Linked DNA regions of Homo sapiens: all the other regions are linked to region 3. Evidence: promoter capture Hi-C in 16 types of primary human blood cells and fetal thymus (Javierre and others, 2016). All regions are on one chromosome and are shown on one strand. Each heading gives the region's core, a stretch centred on a gene start or on the middle of the fragment in contact. The rest is flanking DNA. Distances are from core to core; before and after follow the strand shown. Region 1 overlaps IQSEC1 (IQ motif and Sec7 domain ArfGEF 1). Region 2 has its middle 8.8 kb from the start of WNT7A. Region 3 holds the start of NUP210 (nucleoporin 210). Region 4 overlaps IQSEC1 (IQ motif and Sec7 domain ArfGEF 1).

Region 1 (4,279 bases), core at 1,423-3,922, 390 kb before region 3:
GCAAAGGGAAGGACACATTTGTTCCCTGGGAGATGCTGATGCCATTGTGAACTTGGCCTTTGAGGGCAGGGCACAGCTCAGGGACTGTGTGCACTTGAGGAAGGCAGCAGGCACAGTGGAGGGACAGTGTTGAAGGGGACCCTGCTTGGGGAAATGAGGACTGGAAGGGGTGCCCCCTACTCTGGAAGCTTAGTGAGGGTCAGTGAGCCTCTGTCTGGCCTCTAGGCCTTGCTGAATGTGTGCCCTCTCCTCGCCTGTTGAGATGTGTCTGCCTGTGGTCTTAGGGCCTTGAGACCCTCTAATTTCTGCCTCTGGCTTAAGGGGCAAGCCACTGTTCCACATCTCTCATCCACAAAATGGGCACACTATACTCGACTCCCGCCTGGGGAACTGCAGGTGACAGTATGAGACCTCTCCTTACTCACTGGGGGTCCGTGCAGCCTCTCCTATTCCACCCACTCTCCCATGCTGACCGTCACCCACAGGAGACCAGGGTGGGGTGGGCAAGGCCCTTTGCCATCTTCTCTCTGCATTGAGCTTCCTGACACCCCCAAGTGGCCCCCACTCCATCACAACACCCCTGAGCCCTCCCAGATCTCCAGGCCTGTCCACCCTGGGCCAGGAATTCTGCACATATTGCCCAGTTATTCTCCACATGCCCCAGTCTGCTCTGGGCCCGGGACTGCAGCTCCCAGGCTCCCACTGCCTCCTGGTTCCTGACGGGGTGGCCAGCAGCGGCCCTGGCAGGAGGTCAGGAGGTGGAGGAGAGAATGATAGGTCAGGGTACTCGTTGCCTCAGCTCTGTCCTCGCTTCCTGTGCCCCTCGGCAGCCACAGTCCTGATGGGTGGCTGTTTGCACCCAGGTCTCTCTCTTTCTGGTTCATGAAACTGTTCTCTCCCCCAACCCTCTGGCCCAGGGCTGGTTAGGGTTCCCCCCTTCTGCCAGCCCAGGTGTCCAGTTCCCTTAACCCCATCCCACCCTGCACACAGCCCCATCACGGGCCACACTGCAAGGGAGCTTGTGTAGTGACCCATGTTTCCTACCAGGACCCAATGCTCAAGGCTCAAACTCAGACGACACCTCCTCTAGGAAGCCAATTTTCCATTGGCTTGTTCCTTCACCCAGTCAACATTCATTAATTGGCTTACTCTGTGCCAGATATCACTTGAGGATTTGGTGAACAAAACTGTGGAGCCTGGTGGGGCTGGCCTTCCTTCTGTACCAAGGGAGCAAATGAAAACGATTTCCCACAGTGGGCTGTGCCATGAAGAAGGCGTATAAACTAGATCATTTCTCTGGATGATACACTTCCCTTCTCCAGGAGTCCATCCTTTTTTGCCCTGCATCCTCTCCGTTCCCTGAGCCTGGACTGCAGCCATTTCTTCCCTGCACTTGGATGACCTGTCTCTGCATCCCTCCCTCACTGCTCTGAGAGCTCACATGAGCAGGTGAGGAGATCTATGTAGCTTAGTTCTTTGCACAATCACCCTATGAAGTAGCAGTTATTATCTCCCCAGTTTTTTTTTTTTTTGTTTGTTTTTTTTTTTACCAATTAATAAACTGAGGTTCAGATGCTGAGGTTAGTTACTCAGGATGATATATAAACCCAGCTCTGCCTATCTGACTCTAAAGCTAAAGCTCTGGAGGCTGAAAACAAAATAAATCACTTGTCATTTATATCTGCAGTCTTCCAATGGTGCCCAGAGCCATGCAAGGCGCAGGAAGGCACATACACCGAGTTGGCCGAACTTCAAAACCCTGGATCCCCCTTCTCAAGAAGCATTGGCCTTTTGAGGATGGGTGCTGGAATGCCCGTTTTCCAAATGGAAAAATGAAAGTCCAGGGTGCTGAGAGCGTTGGGTCTTGGAGGACAGTAGTGGGCTCCCAGCCTCCCAGGCAGCTGGCATCCTGAGTTCCACCATCTTGTCTCGGGCCTAGGATGGCCACTAATATCCAGTGCGCAGGCAGGGGCTGGGCACTCACTTCAGGGCAGGAGCTGGGAAAGAAGGCAGAGAAGAGCTTCCGCAAGTCCATCTTATGGAGCACAAAGGGCCAGCGTCCAAGTTGCCAGACTTGGCCTGCAGGGCCTCACTTTACTTGCTGTGCAGAAAAGAGACCGCAAGGGGGCAATGGCCAGGCAGGGGCCAGGGAGGAACTGTTGCTTGGACTGGGGTGGTGGACAGGAAGGTGAGGACAAGAGGTTGGATTCTAGAGACATTCTCAAAGTGGAACTGGTAGAAATGTCTGATCAATAAGATGAGGAGGTGAGAGAGAAAAGAGGAGTGGAAGATGATGCCTGGGTTGCTGGCCTGAACAACTGGAAAAATGGAGGTTCCATCCACGGTGACAGGGACACAGGGATGGCCAGTGGGAGCAGGTTTGGAGGGATGATGAGGCAAGGCAGAACGGGGGGACTCCGACTGGTCAAACAGAACAACTGTGGCTTGGCTCTGGCTGATGGCTGCTCTGTAGGAATAAGGGCTCTGATTTTTCAGATATCAGAAATCCAGGTTTTTACGTAACAGCTCTTGATTTTTATATGTTTGCAATAAATTCAAATTTACAATGATATGTAGGTTAATCCTATGCAAGCCAAATAAAATACATCTGTGAGTGTCTAGCCCACAGGATACCTCTTGTATCCTCCGCTCCTTCTTGTCTTTCAAGGTCCACTTAGCTGCCTCCTCCCCCAGGAAGCTGCCCATGATTGCTTCAGCTCCAGAGACGCCTGTGGCCCCTCAAAGCCCCGCAGGGCTGATAATCCCAGACTGGAAGTGACAGGAGGACAAATAGGGGGTTTGCTTATCCATTTCTCACGCCTCAAGCATAGGGTTTGGCCCAGAGGGGGAGTTAATGAATGAATACCTGCCGAATGAATGAATGAACAAGTAGCTCACTTGATCCCTCTGCCCTTATTTTGCAAATAAAACTGAGTCCCAGATAAGGGACATGACCTGCCAGGGTGGGATCTGGGGCCAGGGACTGCTCACCGTCTGGCCTCTGTTTGTCAGCTGTCCCCCGAGGCTGGGCCAGGCTAGGCCGGCAGGAAGTATAAAGACAATTGCACAGTCTTATCGAGTTATGCCATGGGAGGGTAGAAACAGGATCCTGAGCAGCTCTTGAGCATCTGGGTAGAGGCTGTTTGGGGGATGTTTTTCCAAGAACTTGCTAAGGTGACCCCAACCGGGGTCAGGGCAGAGCCAGACCCTAGAACTGGGTGCCTCTGCAGGTGGCATGGTCATGGGACAGATGACACCCCAGATGGAAGGACTCACATTAGCAATCAGTCAAAGTGACAGCCAGTCCCCATGGGTTGTCCCTTCTGAGGGTTCTGACACGTTTCCTTTCAGCCATGGGGAGGGCAGATGGTACTGGGTTTGACCATCAGGGTTTGTGCTCAGATCTTCTATGCAAGGAAATCAGACAACATAGGCACCGGAGGCTCTGGCCTCATTCTTCAGTGTTGGAGATGGAGAATGGAGTCTCAGAGGTGGAGGCGACTTGCCCTGAGGTCACACAGTAAGGAAGCCGCAGATCTGGGACTCCGGATCAGAAGTCCTGATTCTGAGACCTGCGCTGGCCAAGGGATCCTCACAAGCCGTTCCTCACACCTTCTGGCCTACCTCAGTTTCTTCATCCACAACATGGGGAGAAAAATAGGATCTATCTCCAGGGGTTGTGAAGATGAAACAAATGGAAGGAGCTAACGCTGTGTGACTGTACTGTGTAAAGCTATATAGAAGATCACGAATATATAGCAACTGCCCTTCTAAGCCTCTAGCCTTGAAAGTTTCTGGCTATGGCCGTCTTTAAAACTTCCAGGGTGACACAGCTCTCCATCAACACAACAAGAACGGTGATACCTAAGGGCTACTGAATGGTTCCTGTAGCCACTGCTCTATGTGTGACTAATTCATTTAATGCTTAGGCTCATCCCATGAGGTAGGTGCTATTACTATCTGATCTATAGGATAAAGAAAGGAAGGCAGAGAGAGGTCCACAGACACGCCCAGGGTTAATACAGATAGAACATGGCAGGGTGGGGAATTGAACTGAAGCAGCTTTGTTCTGAGACATGCTTCATAACCGCTACATAACACGGCTCTCCTCGGCTGGCTTGGAAGTCTTTCTCAATGTCTAACCTAAATCCTTTTTGTTGCAGGCTGTGCCTATTCACTACCCCCTTCCTTAGACAAAGAAGAAAGCTGCTCCCTTCAATCTCCATTTTGTTGTGCTGAGAGGCCTCAATTCTTTAGCCCCTGTATCCTGACTCCCTGG
Region 2 (4,886 bases), core at 1,299-3,798, 470 kb after region 3:
CACTGCACCCAGCGGGAGCATCATTTTTGTTGAATGAATTGATGAAGGAAAGAAATACTCTCATGTGGGAAAGTTCTCAGAAGAAAATGAAATTCAGAGCTGTGACACAGAACAGCTCCGTGGGGAACCTCAGGTAGTGTGACCAGAGAAGGCTCTGAAGAGCTGAGAACTGAACAAGCTTCATTTTGCCTCCTCCAGAAGCCATCCCTGGCCAACTCCTCCAAAAGGATATTGACCTCCACAGCCTCTGTGCTAGCCCCTGTTCAAGCAGCCACCATAAACACCACAAACACCACAGCCTCATCTGTGTGTTTGTTTGCTCCCCATCCCCTGACATGGGCACCTCCAGAGGGCACCCAGAGCTGCACACCCAGTGATGATCACCAGACCCCGGGTAATCAGCCCGTGGAGAGCAGAGGAGCTGGAAAGAAGGAGAGGTGGGAAGGAGGTGGCAGAAGCCATTAGGGTGTCAATTGTAAAGGCCTGTAGCCTTCATCCTGTAGATGGGAAGGCACCCACATTGTCAGAGCAGGGCTGTTATCCAGTCCCATGTGGGTTTTCACCAGTGAGATCAGCCTCTATTATTTTGTGGCTATCCAGCATTCAACTCCTGTGACTGGCACCATGGTGTCTGCTTGGGGAGCCCCCCTCTGTGCGCCAGGCTGGTAGGAGGTTGTGCTGCCTCCGATGGAATCTCTTCTTCCTCCTTCTGCCTTGGAGCTGTTGGCCCCCAGGTCCTCTCTCCCAGGATTAGAGCAGGCAGGGCAAAAAGCTGGGGTCTGAAGACTACATTCCTACAGCTGGGGAGCAGCAGGAACACAGAGACCATCCATCTGCTCAAATAAGGAAACAGCCTCTCTCTTTGCACTGTGATAGCATGCACAATTTACTGAGGACCTAGTATGTGCCAGGCTGTCTGATGGATGCCTTATATTTCTTTGCTGCTGGCAGCACTTTTCCCAGATGGCTGTATGGTTCACCCATTACTTCATTCAAGCAGAATATCACCTCCCACATCGCTGCCCCATGGGGGTGACCCCTGAGTACCCTGCGCTTTCATGGCACTGTCTAGACCACCTCTTACTCTGGCTTTATTTATATGCCTAGAATGTATCAGCACCCCCCAACTTTACATTGTGTATTTGTTGACTTTTGTTTGTCTATCTTCCTCATTGCACTGTCTGCCCCACAAGTAGGAATATTTGTTACTTAACAGCTGCATTTCATAGAATGATGCCTGGAACATGGGCGGCCCTTGATGAATAATTGTTAGACACATGAATAATTGGATGATTCTCATGCACTCCTCATAAAAACCTCATTTTCCGGAAGAGAAAATTGAGATGTTGAGGGGTTAAGTTGCTTACCCAGCATCTAGCTGAGCGTCTAGCTGAGTGTCTGGCACTTATGTTAACACATGTCTCCATTCCCTTTTTGTCTTCTCCCACATCTCCTCACTCCTGCTAATAATAGGCTCCTTTGCACTGATTTCGCCTACATAGATTTCATCTCCATCCCAGCATTCCTAATACCCACTGCTATGCACGAGGTAGGCCTCACCCAGGCCAGTGATTCAGTGTTATCAAGGGGGCAGGAGTTGGGGGCAGAATGGGTAGGACCAGAGCATCCTGACTGGGAGGAGCTGGAACATGGGCCTTGGGGCTGGAAAATTGATGTCTCCCTCCCCCTGCTGCCAAAGTCCTATTGACTCCCTTGCTGAACCATCAATCTGTTTGTGAATCTGGGGGCCAAGATTGTGGAAGAGGCTGCAAAGAGACAATCCATCCTACAGGTGGGGAGACTGAGCCCCATTGCAGGCCCGAGAGGCTCCAAAGGCACATAGCCAGCTAGGGGCAGAGTTGGATATGAAATACTGCTAGGGCACTGGGGCAACACACCCAGCTTTGAGTCTCGGCTCAGCCTCTTGCTGTGTGACCTTAGGAAAATGGTGAACCTCCCTTAGCCTATTTCCGTATCTGTATGGAGATGATGATAATAATAATGCCATCTCATAGGTTACAGCAATCATATATATAACACATTCACATTTCACAGAGCAACTGGCACATAGCATGCACTCAACACATGATAGTTATTTGATGATGATGATTATGGCGATAAAGATGTGTATTGGAATCCAGCCCTCTAGGATCAGAGGAATCTTAAAGATGATCAGGGCCACTGTTTCTCAAACTACTATGTGCATCCAAATTACTTAGGTATGAAACAGATGCCCAGGTCCCCCTCAAGACCTCCCAAGTTGGACTTCCTGGCAGAGGTGGAGGGAAGTCTATCCCATCTCCACTGAGTAGTGGCCAACTGTGCTCAAACCTCTCTCAGGGAGAGCGGCTCACTCATCCCAGGGGAGCCCCTTGCATTTGGATACAATGGTGACTGGGACACTTCTTCCTCATACCAGTGAGAAATCAGCTGATAGAGGTTAGAGGGATCAGAGAAGGGAACAGTGGGTCCCCACTGTTCTGTGGCCCTTGATTTCTCCAGCTCAGAAATGGAGTAAGGCATGCCAGCTCTAAGTCTCTGTCTCTTCAAAAGGGATCTATGGACTCCCAGGTTTCCAGAGAGGAATGCTCAGGGCTCCAAGAATGAGAATTTCAAATGGTCTTTTTTTTTTTTTCATTTTAACATGAATCTAACATCCTCATATTTCAAACTATTAGGATGACCTCATTATAACTGATAACTGTCCTCTAATTAACTTTGCTGTTTGAGTTTGCATTTTTGCTTATGGTCATAAGGTTCCCAGGAAAACCACTTTTGTGATTTGGAGCCCAGGAGAAGAAAGCAGTAATTCACTGAAGCCCCTGCCCTGTGTGAAGAAAGGGTTAGGAGGAGGTGGGCTAGAGGAAAGGGGTTGGGAGGTTTGATTCATCTCATGACAGAGGGTGATAGATGGTGCCAAATTTAATGGGCCCTACATGGTGACAATTGACACCATGATCAGGCTACAAGCTGCCACTTGGCTTCAGCAAAGTAACATTCTCTGGCATATGTCAATTATCATTCATTTAAAAGTTAGATTTTCTGGTGTTTATGTTAGTTTATATTTCATCTGGAACTTGCAGATTTTAATAGCATAAGAGCCTACGCTTAGTTTTATGATAGTACATATCTAAGCAATGGTGTACTAAAAATTAGTTAAACCACCATTGAGTGTGTTTATTGGCCAGGGGGAGTAGTGTACAAGTTTCCCCTTTCAAGGAGCCCACATATCCCTCCAGCTTGAGAAACAAATCCCTGTTGATTTTGAAGGACCTCTGCATTCTCATGGTTTGTGAGCCCATGGATGGATCATCAGGTGGATGGGATTGTTTTAATTGAATTTGAGGTAAAGACCATTGTGAGGCCATTTTATACCAAATACCACCCGGTGAATATGTGTGTGTGTGTGTGTGTGTGTGTGTGTGTGTGTGTGTGTGTGTGTGTGTGTACTTTATGTTCTGCTGGCACCAGAATCCCCTGCAGGAGGGCTTGTTAATGCTCAGAGGGATGCCCACTGCCCAGGTTCACATTCAGTCCATCTGGGACTGAATGAAATGCACCCCAAAATGTGCATTTCTAACAAGTTCCCAGGTGATGCTGATGGCCACCCTTAGAGATCCAGAAGATCATCATCTGTGGGCTGGGAGGCAGGACTCAGGTCCACTGGCCTCTGTCCAGCCTGCTCTGGAATCCTGGGTAAGCCCCTTGTTCTGGGTGAGCCTCTGGACTCCCTACTTCCCATTCCTGCAATAAGAAGCTGGGACAAGTCTAGTGCCTCATCCAGGAGCAAGCATAAGCTCTGACACCTGGTTTGCCATTCGGAGTCTAAAGCCTGGTGTCTTATCAGTGAAGTTTCATGTCCACCCAGGAAGCCCCTGGAGCAGGAGGGCAGTGGCAGTCTTAGCTCCCTGCTTTGGGGAGACAAGCTGCGGAAACAGAAAGGCACACTCCCACTCCAAATCCCATCTCTGGCCCTGTGACCTTGTGCAAGTGACTGGTCTCCAGGGCTTCCCCTCATGTTGTAGGGTCACTGAGAAGTCCCTTCTGGAAAGCACCTGGATCTGGTGGGCCCTCTCAGACTCATCTGTGCGCTCCCAGCCACACTTTGCCTCACCGGCCGCTGGCCATCTGCCCGTGGGCTCCTGGTCACCTCGGGAGGAGAGCACTTATCACCATTCCACCCCCAAGGTCTTCCTCAGGATAATCTCCGGCCCGGGTGATTCATCTCATGGGCTGGGCCCTTCCTCTCGGGCCTGAAATATCTCCCTCCCCTCACCATTCCTGGGTCATGCCTGTGCCCCCAGCCATGTGACTTCCTCTGGGGACTGGCCCTGGGCCCCTGCCCTCCTGCCACCCCTCCACTCTCTAGCTAGCGACCCATTCTGGGCCTGCCATATCAGGCAGGGCTCAGCTGGGAGGGAGGAAGCCCACAGCTTGTTGTGCTGGGGAAAAAGTGCATCCCCACGTCCGGCCCCCACCCTGGCCCAGCCACACCTCTGCCTTTAGTGGGCTGGGCTTCCGGCACACATCCTGGCATGTCCTGGCCTGTTTATCACTTAGTTGCCACCTGGCGCTCTGCCCCTCATGCACACACATTCCCTGGGAGGCTTCTGGGGCTGGAGCAGAGTGGTTGGCCAGTATATCCCCCAGCTTTAGGGAGGCTGCCTTTCTCTGGAGCTAAGGATGGCTTTTTGGAGAAGACAGATCTGATCATATATCCCAGTTTCACTGTGGAATTACTGTGTGACTTTAGGCAAGTGAGTCTGCATCTCTGGGTCTTAGTTTCTCTGATTTTTAAATAGAAAGATAAATACCTTCATCTCCAGTTGTTGTGTGGATTAAATAAGATAATTACAAACAGACTGATGCTTGAACCCTACCTCCAA
Region 3 (4,800 bases), core at 289-2,788:
ACTCTAAAAACAAACAAACAAACAAACAAAATTAGCCAGGTGGCCTGCACCTGTAATCCCAGCTACGAGGCGGGAGAATCGCTTGAACCCGGGAGGTGGAGGTTGCAGTGAGCCGAAATCGCACCACTGCACGTCAGCATGGACGACAAAGCAAAACTCCGTCTCAAAAAAAAAAAAAAAAAAAAAAAAAGAAAGAAAGAAATAGGGCAAATAGTGCAAGCAACAGAGAAAGCTGGCTGGTCTGAGCTTCGGGCATCACACTTACATACACGCACAGACTAATACTCAAACAGGCTTGACACACACATGTCCAGGCTTACACACATGGCTGTCACGTGGTCACACCCCGTTCTGCCTCAACCTTGACCCAGTCTTGAAACAGAAATAAAGGGAGCAACTACTGAGCATCCTGGGGGTGGGAAGGGCGGAAGCCCATCTTTTCACCCCTAGGACGGCTGGGCTGGGAAGCTAAGGGCGCTCAGTCGTGCCCACGCAGCCTTGCCAGGGGCAGGAGCTCCATTTCCCCTGGTCTGCAAAATGGAAGGGCTGGACTGCACCGCCCTGTCAGTGTCGGTCTCTGGTTTCATGGGTCCCTGTGGTTCCACAGGGTCACACTCCGCATCCGACCCCTTGGAGAACTCCCAACCCGAGAGGGAGGGTGATGGAAATGCCCTGAGCATCAGGACCCGCGCCGAGGCAGCCTGAGGGGAAGCGCCGGCCTGCCTCGTCTCACTTCGCCTCTGTAAAGCGGCCCCTGGGCTTCCCTCCAAAACTCCTTTCCTCCAGGGTCTCCGTTCCTCCCCGCGACGCTAGGCGCTGCGCTTCGTTTCACAGACTCACTTCCCACGCCAGGGCGAGGGCGGTCACAGACAAACCCGAGCTGGGGTCCCAGACTCAAGGGAAGTGCGGCCCAGCTGCCCCGGCGCCCCCTCCCGGGTCAGGCCGGCTCGGGCCCGGCCGGCTTGGGCCCTGCGGTCCCAGACGCCGCTCCCCAGGCCACCCCTCCTCCCGCACAACCCAGAACACGCGGGTCACGGCCGCCAGGCTGCGCCCGCTCTGCTCGCGCCTCAGCGGCGCGGAGGCCCGGACGGCGCCATGACATGAGCAGTGGTGGCGACCCACGCGCACCCGCCGCTCCGAGTGCTGCAGCCTAGCGCCCAGCGAGAGCGCGCCGCGCACCTGCCGGCTCTGCCGGCCTCCCGGCGCCCGCCCAGCCTCTCAGCGCGAAGGCCCAGCCCGGCCCACGGCGCCCGCCCGGCCCGGCCGCGCGCCTCACCAGCGGTAGCAGCCCTCCGAGGCCTCCAGCGTGAAGTTAACGCGCGTGGCCCGCGTGAAGGGCAGCAGCACTTTGGGGATGTTGAGCTTGGCCGCAGCGGCGGAGGGGCCCGCCGCCAACAGCACCGACAGCGTCAGCAGCAGCAGCCCCCGGCCCCGCGCCGCCATCCTCGCCGCGCGTCACCTCCCGCGACCCTGCGCCCGGCCGCCCGCGCCGCCCCGTTGCCCTCCGCTCCCGCCCGCGCGCGCGCCAGGCCAGCAGGTGATGAGCGCGGGGGCGGGGCGAGGGCCGTCGGCGGCCGCCGCTTCCTGGGCCTGAGCGCGGGAACTCTGGGGGCCGAGCTCGCGGCGACCCCACCCCCAGCCCGGCCCTCGCGCAGGGACGCGGGGCTGGGGGATGGGCGCGCGCCCGGGCCCCCGGAGCTGAGGGAGAAGGCTTGGGGCGCGCCCGCGGGGACCCCTGGACCCTAGAAGTCCCAAGGGGGAGCCCCCGGGGCGCCCCGCAGCACGCATCCCGCCCTGGTATTTGCCCCTGGCGGTGGAGCCAAGCCGCCGGCTTTGGACCTTGCGCTCTGGCCCGGACCCACGGTCAGCAAGGAAGGGACACATGCCCCAGGACATTTGGGATGCAGAAAACCGGCGCCTGCCTTGTCCCAGCCCATGCTTCCCAGAAGAGGGACCCCGGGCTCGCAAAGGGAAGCCACCTGCTGAAGCGCTGAAGGCCCGGGGCCCGCTCCCCCTCGACCCCCTCACACCCTTTCCAGAGAGGCCTTAAGATTCCCATTTCTCCAGGAAAAAACCGGTTGAATGGCCCCCAGATCACTCAGCCAGAGAGCCCCAAGCTCTTGTCCTCCGCACTGCACCCCCTGCGGAAGCCATTAGAGGTTACCTATAGGTCATTTAGGGCGCCAACGCTGCCAGAGCACAACCCCCTCCACGGCCCCCACACCCACAAAAGAAAGTTTAGCACCGCGGAATCCACCTGCACACCAATGGAAGGCCTTAGATTCCGCGCTGTGCTCTGTGGCTTTTAGCTGTCTGTCGTGAATTGCATGAAGGCATGCGTCAGCAGGCACCTGACTGCTTGGTGCCGCTAAAATATGAATCTAGCCTTGCAGAGAAGGCCCAGCCTAGCGGGAGGTCAGGAAAGGGTGGGGTGAGGGTGCACTGGCCGGCTGTCTGAGGAGTGCAGGAAGTGGATGCTGACTGTAACCAGGAAGACACACAACGATGCCACTGGGTGACCAGGAAGGAGAGGATAAATGTCAGTAAGGCTAGGAAGGCTTTTTGGAGGCGGCGGCCCCTGGGTTGGGCATAGACACCGCACTGGGCTTCAGCGAGGCCCGCATAGGCTGAGCCTGCCCCTCAGGGATCATGGGGCTTTTGGATGGTGATGCGGGGTGTTTGGGGTCACCCTCGAAGCCTGAGGGCCCTAGACCAGGGAATGTGTGTGTTGGGGGAAATCTCTGGAGATAACCAGAACTAAGGGGGTGAGGGTCGGCCCTGTGTGGAACCAGGTGCTCTGGGAGGGGAATTCCAACGGGCTCCCTTTGAAGAAACAAAAAACAGACTTGCGCGGAAAAGGCAGCCTCAGAGGGTATTTGTGAGGAAGTCTGTGGGTGTCTTCTGGGTTGCACAAGATTGATTTGTTTTCCAACAGGTAATCCAGACAGATGGTTGAAACTTAGGCTCAAAAGGGTTCCAAGTGAAAGTGATTCCTCTCCCTCCCCATCACCCAATACCCTTCCCTACAGGCAATGAGTGTTTCCCACTTGAGTATACATCCAGAGAAATTTTATGCATAAACAAGCATATATATATATAAAACATGGCACACATGCACACACATACACATACATGCACACACATATGTATATATGAAATATGGCACATATACATACATATACATATGTCTTGCGAGGCAGGTAAATCTCACTCTTGGACATATATCCTAGAGAAATGAAAAGTGATGTTCCCACAATCACCTGTACATAAAACATTCATAGCAGCTTTATCAAATAGGCCCAAACTGGAAACAGCACAGAGGTCCTTCATGGGTGATGATTAAATACTGTGGCACATCTATGCCATGGAATATTATTCAGCAAAAAAAGAAATGAACTGCTAATACATCCATCTTGGATGAAGCTCCAGGGAATTATACGGACTGGAAAACAAACACTACAAAAGCACAAAAGGTTACATACTGTAAACTTGCTTTTATACAAGATTATTGAGTTGGCAAAATTATAGAAGTATAGAGCAGGTGAGTGATTGTGGGGTCAGGGGCGGCGTGGCATAGGAAGTGATGTGGCTATAAAAGGTCAACATGAGGAGTCCCTGGGATGGAAGTGCTTGGTGGCTTGACTGTATCAATGTCCATTTCCTGGTTGTGATATTATCCCATAGTTTTGCAAGATGTCTACTAGTGGAAACGGGGTAAAGGGCACATATTATAGCATCTCTCTTGTTATTTGTTACAACTGCATGTAATCTACAATTATCTCAAAAAAAGAATCATACAAACAGGCCCAGCAAAACACATCTGAGTGGACACAGCTTGCTAAACAACTACGTTTCAGGTGATTTAAGGCAATCAGGAAATTTTCCCAGCAGAAAACAATCCATGGAAGACAACAAAATGGGCCGGGTGCGGTGGCTGTCACCTGTAATCCCAGCACTTTGGGAGGCCAAGGTGGGCAGATCACCTGAGGTCAGGAGTTTGAGACCAGCCTGGCCAACATGGCAAAACCCTATCTCTACTAAAAATACAAAAAGTCGCCAGACATGGTGGCATGCATCTGTAATCCCAGCTACTGGGGAGGCTGAGGCAGGAGAATCACTTGAACCTGGGAGGTGGAGGTTGCAGTGAGCTGGGATCAAGCCACTGCACTACAGCATGTGCAACAAGAAACTCCATCTCAAAAAAAAAAAGGCAACAAAATGATGGGTAAAACATTTTCCATCTGAGATTTTATCCCTTTACGTTGTCCTTAAACTTGCCCCCAGACCCCATTTCACTTGCCTACAAACCTGGTATGAGATGGTATTTGGGGCCAAGCCAGGGGTCCATGTGTAGGGGCCACCCCCACCTTCTCTGTGGGCTGTTTCCACTCCCTGGCATTGGGCCCCTTCTTTGGGTGTCAGTGTTTATCTGAGATGCAGGGAGCCAGCCATGGACAATGGCCTGAGCACAGCCTTCTGTCCTGGCACAGAGACCCTCTGGGCTGGAAGAGACCACAGATTTGAGTGAGCCGGTTACCCACCTGATAACTAAAACCAGATAGGAAAATGTCTCCTGACCCACATCAGGGTCTCCCAAACTTCTGTTACTTTCTACCACCCTAAAACATTTTAAAAAATAATATCTATCTGAGTGCCACTTGTGCTGTTATTTCCTGTCTTTAAATCAAAGTGTTTACATATATTTACTTAAGAAGCAAACTTTGTCTCTTCTGTTAATAAAAAGCCATTATCAGTTTGCAAAATATAATAGAAGTAGCCATAAAATAAATACAGCGAAAC
Region 4 (4,451 bases), core at 299-2,798, 450 kb before region 3:
CTGCATCCAGGTCCCAGCGCGCGAAGCCTCTGTTCTGGAAGGAGGACTTTGCGCAGCCCCTCCAACACTGGCGCCTCCCGGGAGCCATGTCTTCCTCTCCAGCGTGTAACCACAACAAATGCACAGCGCCAAACCCCCAACCAGAGCCTACTCCGCTGATGCCTACTCAACATCTGCCTATCCCGATTTTGCCTTCAGTTTATAAAACCTGGCCTTTGCCTGCCTGGACCGAACCGTGTGGTTCTGGGGCTCTGATGCGCCCCAGAGAAGGGAATGGGCCCTATCCTGAGGTTGGTACCACCCTTTTGGCGGCTTTTTGGGGGAAGATCTAATGGAAAGTTGCTTCTTTCTCCCTAAGCCCACCCAGCCCCCTACCCTTTCTCCACCCAGAGACACCCTTCAAGCACCTATGACAAGCTTAAAGTAATACTAATTAGCACTTTAGAGTTCTTTAGTGATAGTTGGCCTTCAAGGCAACATTGTGAAGTAGGTGGAGTTACCCCTGGCCTCATTTTACCAATGAGTAAACTGAGGCTCAGCTTAACTGGGCCAACTAAGAGACGGCTTCCCTCACTCTTTCCTCCTCTCCCAGGCTCTTCCTACTATGAGCGCTCATGGCTTGCAGTCCTCCATTTGTATGTTTACTTGTTTATTATCTGTCCTTGGGCTCCATGAAGGCAGATACAGTGCCCAGCGCCCACACCTGTGGAATGCCTAGACGTGGTTGGGAGACAGCAAGCAGATATGGAACAATCAAAACCCCACCTGTCCTGGGCCACCCACCTACAAGTCCATCTCCTGGAGGGCCAGGCAGCTGGCAGGCCTACGGGAGTCAGGAAGCTGCAAGAAGCCATCAAGGCAGGGGCATTGTCTTGTGCCCTTCTGAATCTTTCATTTGGAGGGGGACAGTGAAGGAAGGGGGCTGAGGTGGCCCAGCTTGCAGCAGAGGAGGGCAGCCCCTAAAGCCAGTTTAGAGCACCTGGGTTCCCAGGCAAGAAGCTGAGCAGGAGCCCAGTGCCCCTTATGCCAGTTTAGAGCACCTGGGTTCCGAGGCAAGAGGCTGAGCAGGAACCCAGTGCCCCTTCACTGCCCATCTCCACATTCCTCTTCTCAGCTTCCCATGTTTTCTTTGCTCTGTTAAAAATAAATGAAGACACAGAATGGGGGGAAATATTTGCAAATCATGTATCTAGTAAGGGTCTAGTGTCCATAGTACATAAAGAACGCTCACAATTCAAAAATAATAAGGCAAATAACCCAATTTAAAAACAGGCAAGGTATCTGAGTAGATTTTTCTCCAAAGACAATCTACAAGTGGCCAATAAGCCCATGAAAAGATGCTCTCAACCTCACTAATCTTTAGGGAACTGTAAATCAAGACCGCAATACCACCTCACACTCACAAGGAAGGCCATAATAAAAAAGATGGACAAAAGTACCTATACATAGAGGGTTCTGGAAGGAGAAGAACACTAGGCTGCACTGCTCAAAGACCACAGCCACATCTGGCATCTGTCATGGTTAGGGTAGGGGTAGGAAGCTGGGAGAGGATAGGGTACACATGACCCAGTTGATGGCAGAGGCAGCAGAAAACTCCCACCCCTGTCTGAAGTGCTCTCTAAAAATAGACTGCAATAAATGGAGCCAAAATAATTCCCCCAGCCCAGCTGCTGGAGCACTCTGGGCACGGTCTTTGACAGCCTCACCATCCGGATTGTCCAAGAATTTCAGGCACTTCTCCAGGCCCAGGGCCCTGCCGCCCAGCAGGATGGTCTTGGCGACATTGTCTCGGCTGGGATTTAGAAGGGGATTGAATTTCGCTGTTAGCATTTGGAATACCAGATGATGGACACTCTGGAAACCAAATGCATCTTGATTCTCTTGTTTTATCTTTCTGCAAAGTGTGCCTCTTGCTCCTGCTCCGCTAACTGCCTTGCAGATTAATAATTTAGGGAACTGTGAGCAGAAGCAAGAAAAGTTCCAGCCTAGAGAGGCAGAGAAGGCCAATTTTTCTGCAGAAATGACCAGACTGGTCAGAATCCTTGCATGCACCATTCAGGCAAATTGCTTAGTTTTCTGAGTCTCAGTTTCTGCAACTGTAAAGAGTGGCTTAGCAGCCACCTCTACCCCAGCTAATTCACCTTGCTGTTTAATTTAATTTAGCAAGCATTAATTAGTACTTACTCTGAGGCCTCAGTGGGGAAACACTGCTGTGACAAGTATTCCCCAGTATGGTGTCGTGACAGTGGAGGAAAGAGCTTGTAATTCTGCCCCAGGAGAGGCTCTAATGGGGGGACATTTTGGGTTGGACCTTGAGGGATGAGGAGGGCCCCATGTATGGGGTCACAGGATGTAAAAAGTCATGGAGACGTTTAGTTCCACTGTATCACCCCATGTTTTAGTCCTGAGCTGCTTGCCTTGGCCCATTTCACATGCTACAACCCGACTTTATCTCTATCCTCCCCAGCTTCTGATAGCCTCCAGTCTTTCCACAGCCTCCCTGCTTTCCTCCAGCCAGATGTGTGGCACTCTCCCAAAGCCCAGCCTTTGCAGCCCCTCTCTCCAAGCTGTCAGGATCAAGCCCAGCCTCCCTGCACAGCCAGCCTCGTGGCCTGGTTCATCTCTCCATCCCTTACCTCTCCTCCTGCCCACTCTATGCCTGCCACACCTCCAGCAACACTAAGCTTCTTTCAGTTCCCCACACTCCCCACTGTGCCTGGCTCACAGCTAGGACCTTGGTTTTCAGCTTCCTATGTCACTGCTCCCAGAAAGACACCCATGACCAGCGCCTAGTCCAAGTCAGAAACTCCTTTTACATGGCATCAGGTTACTCTGCACCTGCTTGCTTATACCAGTGAGCTGTATTCCAACTGCCAGGGCTGGTTCTATGTCCTTCCCTGCAGCAGCCCCTGTGCCGACAGTGGAGCCTGGTGCACAGAAGGTCTTCGACAGCTGAATACGCCAAAGGTTGGTAAACTATGGCCTGAGAGCCAAGTCCAGCCTGCTGCCTGTTTTTTTAAAATAAAGGTTTATTGGAACAGAGCCACGCTCATCCACTTATGTATTGTCAATGGCTTCTTCCATGCTATGATGATGAAGTTAAACAGTTACAACAGACACATGACCTGCAAAACATACAATATTAATGCGCACATGCAGCCCTTCTCTGAAATAAATGAAGCTCTCCTGAGGCAGTCTTACATTGGCTCCAACTACCCTGGCAAACCCCCTGCGTGTTCAGCCAGACACCCCATGCAAGAGCAGAATCCAAACATGGGGGAAGACAGTGACTGAAATGATAGGGCTGGGCCAGATGATCCTCAGATGAGATGGCCACAAGATGGGATGCACTGTTGGGAACGAATCCTACAGCGCCGCCTGCCCATGTGCACATAGAGGCATGCCCAAGGATATTAATTATTTGAAAAAGCAGAACTCGGGAGGAAACGTGCAATGCCTCTCAATGCAGACTGGTTAAGTAAATTGTATTACACCCATCAATGGAGTCCCATGTTAAAAAGATGGCAGCAGCATCTTGCATACTTATAGGAAAAGATCTGAGACACAACATTGTGATAGAAAGTCCAGAAAAATGTGAAGTGTATTTATAAAAGAATCTACAGAACACTAGTATGCTTATATAAGATTGTATAATCATAGATTACTTCTTAAAAGAGACCCAAGAGTGCCATTGCACTCCAGCCTGGGAGACAGAGCGAGACTCTGTACCCTCCTCCAACACCAAAAAAAATTTTTTAAACAAGTGTTTGTTACTTTTTAAAAACCCAGTTATGGGCCAGGTGTGGTGGCTCACCCAAAGTCAGGAGTTCGAGACCAGCCTGGCCAACATGGCGAAACCCCATCTCTACTAAAAATACAAAAATTAGCTGGGCGTGGTGGTGGGTGCCTGTAATCCCAGCTACTCAGGAGGCTGAGGCAGGAGAATCACTTGAACGCAGGAGGCAGAGGAGCCGAGATCGTGCCACTGCACTCCAGCCCTGGCAACAGGGTGAGACTCCATCTCAAAACAAACAAACAAACAAACAAACAAACAAAAACAAAAGGCCAGTTATGGATTGGACTGGAACCAATGCAATTTTTTTTTTTTTTTAATGTGCCAGTGAAGCCTGGGCAACATGTCAAAATCCCATCTCTACAAAAAAACAGAAAAAGTAGCTAGGCATGATGGCATGTGCCTGTAGTCGCAGCTACTCAGGAGGCTGAGGTGGGAGGATCACCCGAGTGTAGGAAGGTCAAGGCTGTGGTGAGCTGTTATTGTGCCACTGCACTCCTGCCTGGATGACAGACTGAGATCCTGTCACAAAAAAAAAAGCCAGTGAAATGAAGAAATCAAGGGACTGAAGGTCTTCTGACATCTTCTAGGAGGCTCTGAAGCCCACCAGAACTAGTCCACAAAGACCCCAAACGCTTGATGGTACTTAAGCCACCTC

The links. Contacts are between HindIII fragments. The CHiCAGO score rates a contact against its expected background, and 5 or more counts as called.
Region 1: a contact is called between a fragment that was not itself captured here and the fragment with the promoter of NUP210 in region 3, in 1 of 17 cell types (total B cells). The highest score is 6.6, in total B cells.
Region 2: a fragment that was not itself captured here is called in contact with the fragment with the promoter of NUP210 in region 3 in 2 of 17 cell types (non-activated CD4 T cells and activated CD4 T cells); the score reaches 7.5 in non-activated CD4 T cells.
Region 4: a contact is called between a fragment that was not itself captured here and the fragment with the promoter of NUP210 in region 3, in 2 of 17 cell types (total B cells and naive B cells). The highest score is 5.5, in total B cells.

The regions. Positions count from the first base shown.
Region 1 is chr3:13,025,347-13,029,625 of GRCh38, forward strand. The region is part of intron 1 of IQSEC1 (IQ motif and Sec7 domain ArfGEF 1); the gene reads right to left. Among named protein-coding and RNA genes, the nearest start is that of IQSEC1, 46 kb to the right of the region's middle. RefSeq lists enhancers at 1,467-1,968, 1,969-2,468. The HindIII fragment of the contact is 4,973 bases long and covers 187-4,279 here.
Region 2 is chr3:13,886,438-13,891,323 of GRCh38, forward strand. No RefSeq gene overlaps it. Among named protein-coding and RNA genes, the nearest start is that of WNT7A, 8.8 kb to the left of the region's middle. The HindIII fragment of the contact is 4,745 bases long and covers 177-4,886 here.
Region 3 is chr3:13,418,784-13,423,583 of GRCh38, forward strand. NUP210 (nucleoporin 210) reads right to left here and starts at 1,539. Exons shown (of 40, transcript NM_024923.4): 1 at 1,277-1,539. The coding sequence starts at 1,443. RefSeq lists silencers at 754-1,323, 1,374-1,773. The HindIII fragment of the contact is 10,112 bases long and covers 1-4,800 here.
Region 4 is chr3:12,967,990-12,972,440 of GRCh38, forward strand. The region is part of intron 1 of IQSEC1 (IQ motif and Sec7 domain ArfGEF 1); the gene reads right to left. Among named protein-coding and RNA genes, the nearest start is that of LINC02022, 85 kb to the left of the region's middle. RefSeq lists a silencer at 1-44 and an enhancer at 195-274. The HindIII fragment of the contact is 2,267 bases long and covers 416-2,682 here.